Linked DNA regions of Homo sapiens: regions 1 and 2 are each linked to region 3. The links are contacts of gene promoters, found by promoter capture Hi-C in blood cells and fetal thymus (Javierre and others, 2016). All regions are on one chromosome and are shown on one strand. The core of a region is centred on a gene start or on the middle of the fragment in contact, and the rest is flanking DNA. Distances in the headings are between cores, read along the strand shown. Region 1 holds the start of PARD6B (par-6 family cell polarity regulator beta). Region 2 overlaps PTPN1 (protein tyrosine phosphatase non-receptor type 1). Region 3 holds the start of STAU1 (staufen double-stranded RNA binding protein 1).

Region 1 (2,700 bases), core at 166-2,665, 1.5 Mb after region 3:
TAACAAGTGCTGGGCAACAGGGGTACAAGTGTTAGGAGGCCTCCGAGGTGGGCAGGGAGATGAGGGGAGGAAGGTACCCTAACCACTCTTCTTGCCAAATCTCAGGTTGGACCTTCCCCTCCACCTCCATTCCCCTGCCCCCTTCCTGGCTTGCAGGTTTCAACAGCTCTTGGATTCCCGGGTCCCACAGGGAGACCTTGGGACCTGGGAATCTCCTCCAGCCAAAAGCTTCAGTCTTCTCCTCTCCTCCCCATGACCCACAGGGTCTGTGTGAAGAGAGGCCGGGCTCTGGGACGTTCAGAGAGGAGGATTCAGCGTTTTGTTGCTCTGGGACACAGCTTGGTCACTCCGGGAAACGAACACAACCTAGAGGCTGTCATTTGTAGAAACAGCGAATGGCCAAGGAATGGCGGGAGGAGGGAAAAGGAAGACTTTTAAAGAAAAAAAAAAAAAGCCCTGAAAGACTGGACTAGAAATCCTCAGGGAGGCTGGGCCTGCAAGGAGCCTTCCCGCGCCTCAGCCCACTTTCCTTCCCTCTCGACCTGACGGACTTAAGGCGTGCAGAGTCTCTTCGGACAAAATGAAGCCAAGAGAGCCCTAAGCTTCTCCCCCAGCAACCGCTGCAGAGGCGGGAAAACTTGAATTTTGCAACCAAGAGTTGCAGCGGGACGCCTAAGCAACGATAAGGGGCGGTGGAGGGGCGTCGTTGGGGGCTGCAGCATCCCAAAGTGGAAGCGGGAAGGGGGCCCGGCTGGAACCGAATAGCCCCGCAGCGCCTCGGCAACCGGACGGGCGGCGCATCCAATCCCCTGGACCGTGCGTGTGACTGGCGCGCGCTAAGCGGCGCGAGCCCCGGCGGAGCCGGGCAACCAGGCGCGCGCTCGCGCGTGCGCAAAAGGCCCACCCAGCCGAGCCCTTCTTCAGGTGCGCTCGCGCTTCCGGCCGGCCTCCCCGCGTGCCTTCCCGGGGCGGAAACTCCAGCACCCGCGCATGCGCCTTCTGGCTCTCCGGCCTGAAGCGGGGCGGAGGGCCATGGCTTCAGGTGATCCCGCCCCTCCCTCGTAGCGCAGGACCAATCGTGCGGTGGTAGGCGGGGTTTTGAGGAGGCAGCCCGCCCACGCACCGCGCGAGGCGTGTATCGATTGGTTGGCGCCGCGGGCGCAGGTGCGCGCTTTCTATTGGGTGTGGGCGGAACGCGAGGGATTGCGGCATCTTCGGGGGCTGCAGGTGAGCGCGCGCACGCGCCGCGGCTGTGGTCCGCTCGGGTGCGCGCGCGCGGGCTCGCGGGGGAGGCGGCAGAGGGAGAGGTTGCGGCGCTTGTGGCCTCCGCTCCGCCCCCTCCTCTCCTCCAGCGCTGTCGCCGTCGCCGCCGGGGCCCGGAGGGAGGGAGCTGCTTCCCCGCCTGCCGCGCCACCAGTCCGACCCTCGGTCCCGCCGTGTGAGCAGCTGGTGGAGTGGAGCTCAGCGCGGACGCCGGAGCTGCGGCCGCCCCCTCTGCAGGTGCCTGTGAGGAGGCGCCCGGGCCGCAACCGCTTTCCGAGATCCCCAGTCGCGCACTCGCTCCCCGCGCTCCTGAGGGGCCGCCCGGCCGGAGGAGGCCGTCGCGGGGCTCGGCGTTCAGCATGAACCGCAGCCACCGGCACGGGGCGGGCAGCGGCTGCCTGGGCACTATGGAGGTGAAGAGCAAGGTGCGCGGGGCCCGGGCTGGGCGGAGCGGCGGGCCTGGGGGGCCGGGGCCTGGGAGAGGCCGGGCCAGGCTCGGAGCGCCGGGGGAGGCGACGGGCTGAGCTGCCCCGGGGTCTGGACGGTGCGGTCGGGAGACTGTGGGTAATAAACTTGCCGAGGAGGGGGTGGCGGGGGTCAGGGGGCGCTAGTGTCCGCCCCTGGCCCGGGCAGGAAGAAGACCTAGTCCAGCATTTAATCTCATTCCGTAAATCTCATTCCCGTGTTCACGGACGGGAGTAGGGGCCAAGGTATATCCAAGGATGGCGCACACTGAGTGAAATGCGAGGCTGCTCAAAAGGTGTAGGAGAATCCTGCCTGCTGGGCTGTGAGTAAAGGGCCCTGGACCACCCCGTTGTTCCCACTTTCTGTGGTTAAGGGGCGCATCGAGTGGCGAAGGAGAGAGCCCAGTGAACTAAACAGCCCTTTAAAAGTTCGCTTTGCTTCCTGCTGGCGCTCTTTCTAGCACTAACTTTGGTATGCATTTAATCTGTAAAATTAGTACTATCACCTTACGTTGGAGTAGCACTTTACAGTTTGACTCTAGATGCTCTTTTCATTCCATCCTGCTACCTACTCACATCAAGTGCTTTTCCCCTTGACCAACGGTATGCCAATCTGCTGATAATTACTTCGGTATTCACTGAATTTCTAAATCTCAAGGCTCAGTGAGCAGGGTAGTCTGTAGGGAGGGATTAGTTAGGGAATGCCTTCCAAAGGGGGTTTTGAGCTGGAATTTGAAGGTGATCGGCAGCCAAGGGAACACTTTCAGCAAGCGTTTCTTGAGTTGAAGAGTTAAAAGGAGCTTAGATAATCTAGCCCAATTCTCTGAGAAGACTGAGGCTTAGAAAGGTTATGACTTCCTCAAGCTGTTTTTTTGCAAAGCCTTCATGCCTTTTTAATAACTTCTAGACATTGCAGAATACAAAACAGGACACTGGCTGGGCCCTGAGAACATTTAAAATAGAATTGAGAAGG
Region 2 (2,700 bases), core at 149-2,648, 1.3 Mb after region 3:
TTTTCTGGAGTGGACCACCTCAGACTCTCTTCCTTTGTCTCCCTGGGGGAAAAGGTTACTCCCCCCGTCCCTCCTTCACATTTCCTTTCCCCTAGTCTCAGTGTGCGTCGAGTCCCAGAGATGACAGTCCCCTTTCCCCTTTCTGTTCATTCATTTATTGGATAGGAGTTGGCAAGCTTATTCTGTGCTAGGCACCGCTTAGGCATTGGAGGTGGTGTTTGCTAATCAGGACAGGCAAGATCCTAGCCTTAGTGGGGCCTAGAGTCGAATAGGGCAATCAAACACAAAAGCAAATAATTTCAGATAGTGACAGGTGCTGTGAAGAGAACGACTTCCTAACGGGGTACAGGGTGACTGCATAGAAGGCCGGCTGTCTTAGAGAAGGGGATCAGGGAAGGCCTGTCAAAGGAGGAGACATTTGCTTTGTGAGCTGAACCAAGAGGAGCAGAAAGCCGTGAGAATATGGGGCTAAAGAACCTTCTAGCCAGGAGGCCTGCGGTACCCACTCCATTGGGGCCATGATATTATTCTTTCAGGCAGGGACTCAGGAAGGTTAACGTTTTAACCCTCTCTAAAATAGCATCTTTCCTCAATGAGCAGCTTAGTCTTTGGTCGTGGCAGAGATGACCTTGTCTTAGGAGTCATCTCCTTGTGTGTTAAAAAGTTAGGAAAGGAGGGTTTCTCATATATCTATAAAACAAGTAGTTAAAAACACAAAGAGCTCTTCCTTTCACAAGCAGCTGAATAAGATACATACTCCCAATTAAATGTCATTGCGGGGGTTGTTAAGATTAACTAAAACCACACTTGCACAGTATCTTAAATAAGCGATATACAGAATAGAGAGATTTTGTTACTTGTGTAAAGGGAGACAGCAGATGATTCTGTTTTCAGCTTATAGGCTCAAAAGGCAAATTGTGAGATCCATCAGCTGTAGTATTAAAATCTATTTTGAGCTCCGCTTAGAAAGGAAAAAAGGTTTAAGCAGTTCTTTGGTATGCTTGACTAACAAAAGCCTTTTTTTTTGGCAGCCTTGATTTTCATGTGGATTTACATCAAGCTTATTTGACAGGATTCTTTTTATTTGGACTGTAGTGTGTATATTAGTTTCTGCTAGACTAATATTTCTAACCACTGTAATCTATATACTAATAAGTATGATTGATCAGTATATAAAATTTGTATGCCATATCTGGTCTCTGAATTAGCTGAATGAATTCCATAAGGGACTTTGAGACTGTGTAGACAAATTTTCTGCATCAGTTTAATGCAGTAGAGTCTAAAATGTCTTTAAATGAAAATTGTTGGTCTGAAGTGTTGGAGTTGATTATGATACACCCCATCACAGTGGAAGCATTGTGGAGAGAAGTCTTTTCCACTGAAATTGACTGAGTTGACAACAAGAAATACGTATTGTAACTTAGTTCTTAGTTGAATTTTATTTCTTACAATTTTAAGCCAGAGTGGGTTGACCTGTCACCCAAGCATGGTTAAAATTGTATTCAGCATGCAACTAGCATGGAGTGTGTCAGTCTTCAATTCATTTCCTTCATTGTTCTTAAGTTTTTCTGCCACAATTAAACCCCACAAGTTAGTCAAGGTGTTGAGATTTTCACTGCTTCTTAATGGATTGCCACATTCCCTGAGGTAGTTTCTTTTGGTCTTAGAGAATTGTCAGGGCCAGCTTTTCTCACCTCCACTGTATGGATATTTTTCTTTTCTAAGATCTTGAAATCAGAAGCTTTTCTCCTAAGTGTAAAAGTAGCTCTTTGTCATACAACTGTAGCGTTTTCTGAAACAGAGTTCAGATGACCTTGAGTCTAAAGTGGCTAACTTTCCAAGGTGTGTATCGCTTTACCAAAACCATTATTTTTCAAGGATTCAAAGAATGTGTTTACAATTGATAGAAAATGGAAGTTTAAAAAAATTAATACTTTATAGCATGTTGAAATGAGGGCAGCCTTATACAAAGTCATACTTTGAGCTTGCCTAGCCTATTGTGATCAGAGAATAATGTAATTTTTGCTTACAACTTGGTAAGCAGGTCAGTTATTCTAACTTATTTTCTGATTAGAACAAAAAGATGTAAAAACTTGAAAACTATTGGGAAAAGAACAAAGAGTGAAGAGGACTTTTGAGTGCTGAGGAATGTGGCAGCTTGGAAAACAAACTTTTTAGGCAGAGATTCTTTGCTAGGTCAGTTTGATAAAGTGAGCATAACCGTATTTTTAATCTTTAATGCTAATGAATAGCATAGATGCTAATAAGCATCTAGGTCTATAAAAAGTCAGCTTTGATAGTGTATATAGATGGCTTTAAACATTGTTTTCTAGCATTTAAACACTTTCAAATCATCCGGTTGCTTGATTGGGCCTAGCTGTCTAAGAGGAGAGAATGAGCCCAGATGAGGAAAAGAGATTGATTTTACTGAGCTAGAATGAGAGGAGAGAGGGTTGAGTGAATGAAAAGAATAGCTCATGTGCTCCCCTCCATCTGTAGTTTAAGAGGGGTTGGGTCCGGTGTTTTGCTTGTTTTCTCGTCTGTAAATTCTTTGATTCTCTGACACCACTCACTATATTTCATTGTGAATGATTTGATTGTTTCAGATAAAGGGGACTGCAATAATACCTTGTGACATGAAGGCAAGATTTATTCATGTTAGAGGCAGGCTTTGTAAAATGGGCCACTCTTCCAATTGAC
Region 3 (2,700 bases), core at 35-2,534:
ATCGAGGTGTAGAGCAAGACAAGACAGACAAATTTTTCCATCTCCGTACACCCCCCTTCAGAGCCCAACACACAGCAAGTGCTCTAGATAGGTTTGCTCAACTCAAGGGAAGCTTCTGCCAGCAACTTTCCCAGAAATGGAATGACAAGAAGAAGCTGGATGATGGCGGGGCGGGGAGAAATGGACAGGTTGCTCATCCTGCGGGAGATGGTGAATATCCTGCAGTTGCCTAAGCGGAGATGGAAAGAAACAGCATCCATCGTTTACAGACTGTCAACTACAGTGTCCCAATTAAGCGTACGCCCCTTTCAGATGTTAACAACTGAAAACAATGCCCTGGCTCTGGACATGGGCACGCGGAACACTGCAGCCTCTAAGAAACCCAAACGGATAGGTAGGTCAACTTCTATCCACTCTGCCCATTAAATTATACCTTCATATCACGCTAATAAATTATGCAGACGGTTTACTGGGACACGCTGTGGGTCTGGCACTCTGATAAGCGCTTTACACGCCCCATTTCACTGAACCTTAAGAGGCAGGGACGGTATTAGCAGCCCCTTTTCCAACCAAGACACAAAGACTTTTTAAGTGTCTTGCCTAACGGGGCAGAGCCGGGTTCGGCACCCGTTTTGGACACCTGGGCCGTGCTCTTAACCACTAAGCTACAGACCTGGGCCGGCGACACTGAGAGGCTCCAGCCCTCGGGGACCTGAAGCAGGGACCCCCCCCCCCCCCCGCCTGCGCCCCAGCCCCGGGAATAACTTCGGCATCCCCGCGCGCGCCATGCGGGACGAGGAAAGGCGGCCGCAGCACCTGTTTGTGGCACCGGTGAGGGCTGGAGGGGATGGGGGCGCCCGGGGCCAGGCCTCAGGGCGCCCCGAGGCGAGGGAACGCAAGAGGACCCGCCTCCTCCGGGAAGGCCCCGCGGGCTAGAGAGAGGCCCGGGAGAAGGCGGAGGGGTGCGCGGGCCCGCCGAGGCCTAGGCCCCACCCGCCGCCCACCTCCCCACCGCGGCGGCGCCCGCGAGGGCCCCACCAGGCCCGGCCCGGCCCGGCCGCCTCACCTGGCTGCTGCTCCGAGCTCGTCCCCCGGCCGGCGGTCCTGGGCGGTGGCGGCGAGGAGGGGAAGGAAGAAGGAAAAAAGGGAGAGGAAGAAGGGACGAAGGGAGGGAAGAGGCGGAGTGGCCGTGGAGGAGGCGGGCGCCGCCGGGCCGGGGGGGGGAGGCGGTCAAAGGAAGCGGGAGCCGAGAGAGACGCGGCAGCCGCCGGCGCAAACGCTGAAGAGCCGCTCAGGCGCCCGCAGCCCGGCAGGAAGTGACGGGGGAGGGGCAGGCGCCCGCCCCCGGCCCCCGCCCGCCTCCAGGCCCGGCCCCGGCCCCACCCCCACCCACGGTCCGAACCACAAGTTCCGGCTGGCACTGCGGCGGAGCCTGCGCTCGCAAGGCACGCCGGGGGCCCAGCGGGAGGAGCGCCCTGTCCCGCCTGGACCGCAGCGGCCCGTCCTGAGTCCCGGGGCCTGCCGGGAGTTGTAGTTCTGGTGGGAGTTTCGCGCTGCCTGCTGGACTCGAAGCGGGTCTGGGAGAACCCAGCCTACCTTCTTTCCTCCTCCACTTCCTTTTTCCTTCCTTGCTGTCGCTTCTTCCTCTTGTCCTGCCTCTGGCCTTCCTTTCTCTCCTTCCTGCAGTTGTTTCTTCCTCCATCTGTAAATGTTCATTAAATGCTTGCCATATGCAAGGCATTGCTCCAAGAGCTAAGAATGTAGTGGTGAACTGACAAAAATCCCTGCCCTCGTGGAGCTTACATTCTTGTGTAAGTAAAATACACAATAAATAAAATTGAAAAATGTGTAGTGAGATAAAAGACAATGGCCCGGGCGCGTTGGCTCAGGCCTCTAATCCCGGCACTTTGGGAGGCCGAGGCGGGCGGATCACTAGGTCAAGAGATCGAGACCATCCTGGCTACCACGGTGAAACCCCCGTCTCTACTGAAAATACAAAAAATTAGCCGGGCGTGGTGGCGGGCGCCTGTAGGTAAACAGCTACTCGGGAGGCTGAGGCAGGAGAATCGCTTGAACCCGGGAGGCGGAGATTGCAGTGAGCTGAGATCGCGCCGCTGCACTCCAGCCTTGGCGACAAAGAGACACTGGTCTCAAAAAAAAAAAAAAAAAAAAAAAAAAAAAAAAAAAAAAAGACGAGAAGTGCCAGATTACTATTTATTTCACCCAGACCTAGATAAACTAAGTGGTTTTTAGCAGCTGTATTGTATGGGAGGTTGGAGAGAGGGTGGCCAGTAAAGAATCTTGGCCAGGCGCAGTGGCTCACGCCTGTAATCCCGGCACTTTGGGAGGCCGAGGTGGGCGGATCACCTGAGGTCAGGAGTTCGAGACCAGCCTGACTAACATGGTGAAACCCCGTCTCTACTAGCCGGATGCAGTGGTGGGCGCCTGTAATCACAGCTACTTGGGAGGCTGAGGCAGGAGAATCTCTTGAACCCGGGAGACGGAGGTTGCAGTGAGCCGAGATCACGCCATTGCACTCCAACCTGGGCAACAGAGTGAGACTCTGTCTCAAAAAAAAAAAAAAAAAAAAAAAGAATCTTGAACTTCTGCACACTCAGCGAAAATTATGCTCGCGTTGTGAGAGGTCCAAGAAACTGAGAATGAATGAAGGAACTGCAGGTGCACAGAGCTTCTCTCTCC

The links. Contacts are between HindIII fragments. The CHiCAGO score rates a contact against its expected background, and 5 or more counts as called.
Region 1: the fragment with the promoter of PARD6B here is called in contact with the fragment with the promoter of STAU1 in region 3 in 3 of 17 cell types (neutrophils, naive CD8 T cells and non-activated CD4 T cells); the score reaches 7.4 in neutrophils.
Region 2: a fragment that was not itself captured here is called in contact with the fragment with the promoter of STAU1 in region 3 in 1 of 17 cell types (fetal thymus); the score reaches 5.8 in fetal thymus.

Annotation. Positions count from the first base shown.
Region 1 is chr20:50,730,165-50,732,864 of GRCh38, forward strand. It overlaps PARD6B (par-6 family cell polarity regulator beta), which reads left to right and starts at 1,416. Exons shown (of 3, transcript NM_032521.3): 1 at 1,416-1,688. The coding sequence starts at 1,623. RefSeq lists an enhancer at 519-568 and silencers at 759-968, 1,069-1,858. The HindIII fragment of the contact is 2,238 bases long and covers 601-2,700 here.
Region 2 is chr20:50,510,955-50,513,654 of GRCh38, forward strand. The region is part of intron 1 of PTPN1 (protein tyrosine phosphatase non-receptor type 1); the gene reads left to right. Among named protein-coding and RNA genes, the nearest start is that of PTPN1, 1.9 kb to the left of the region's middle. The HindIII fragment of the contact is 681 bases long and covers 1,059-1,739 here.
Region 3 is chr20:49,187,050-49,189,749 of GRCh38, forward strand. STAU1 (staufen double-stranded RNA binding protein 1) reads right to left here and starts at 1,285. Exons shown (of 14, transcript NM_017453.4): 1 at 1,067-1,285. RefSeq lists an enhancer at 29-98 and silencers at 499-658, 889-1,558. The HindIII fragment of the contact is 4,529 bases long and covers 111-2,700 here.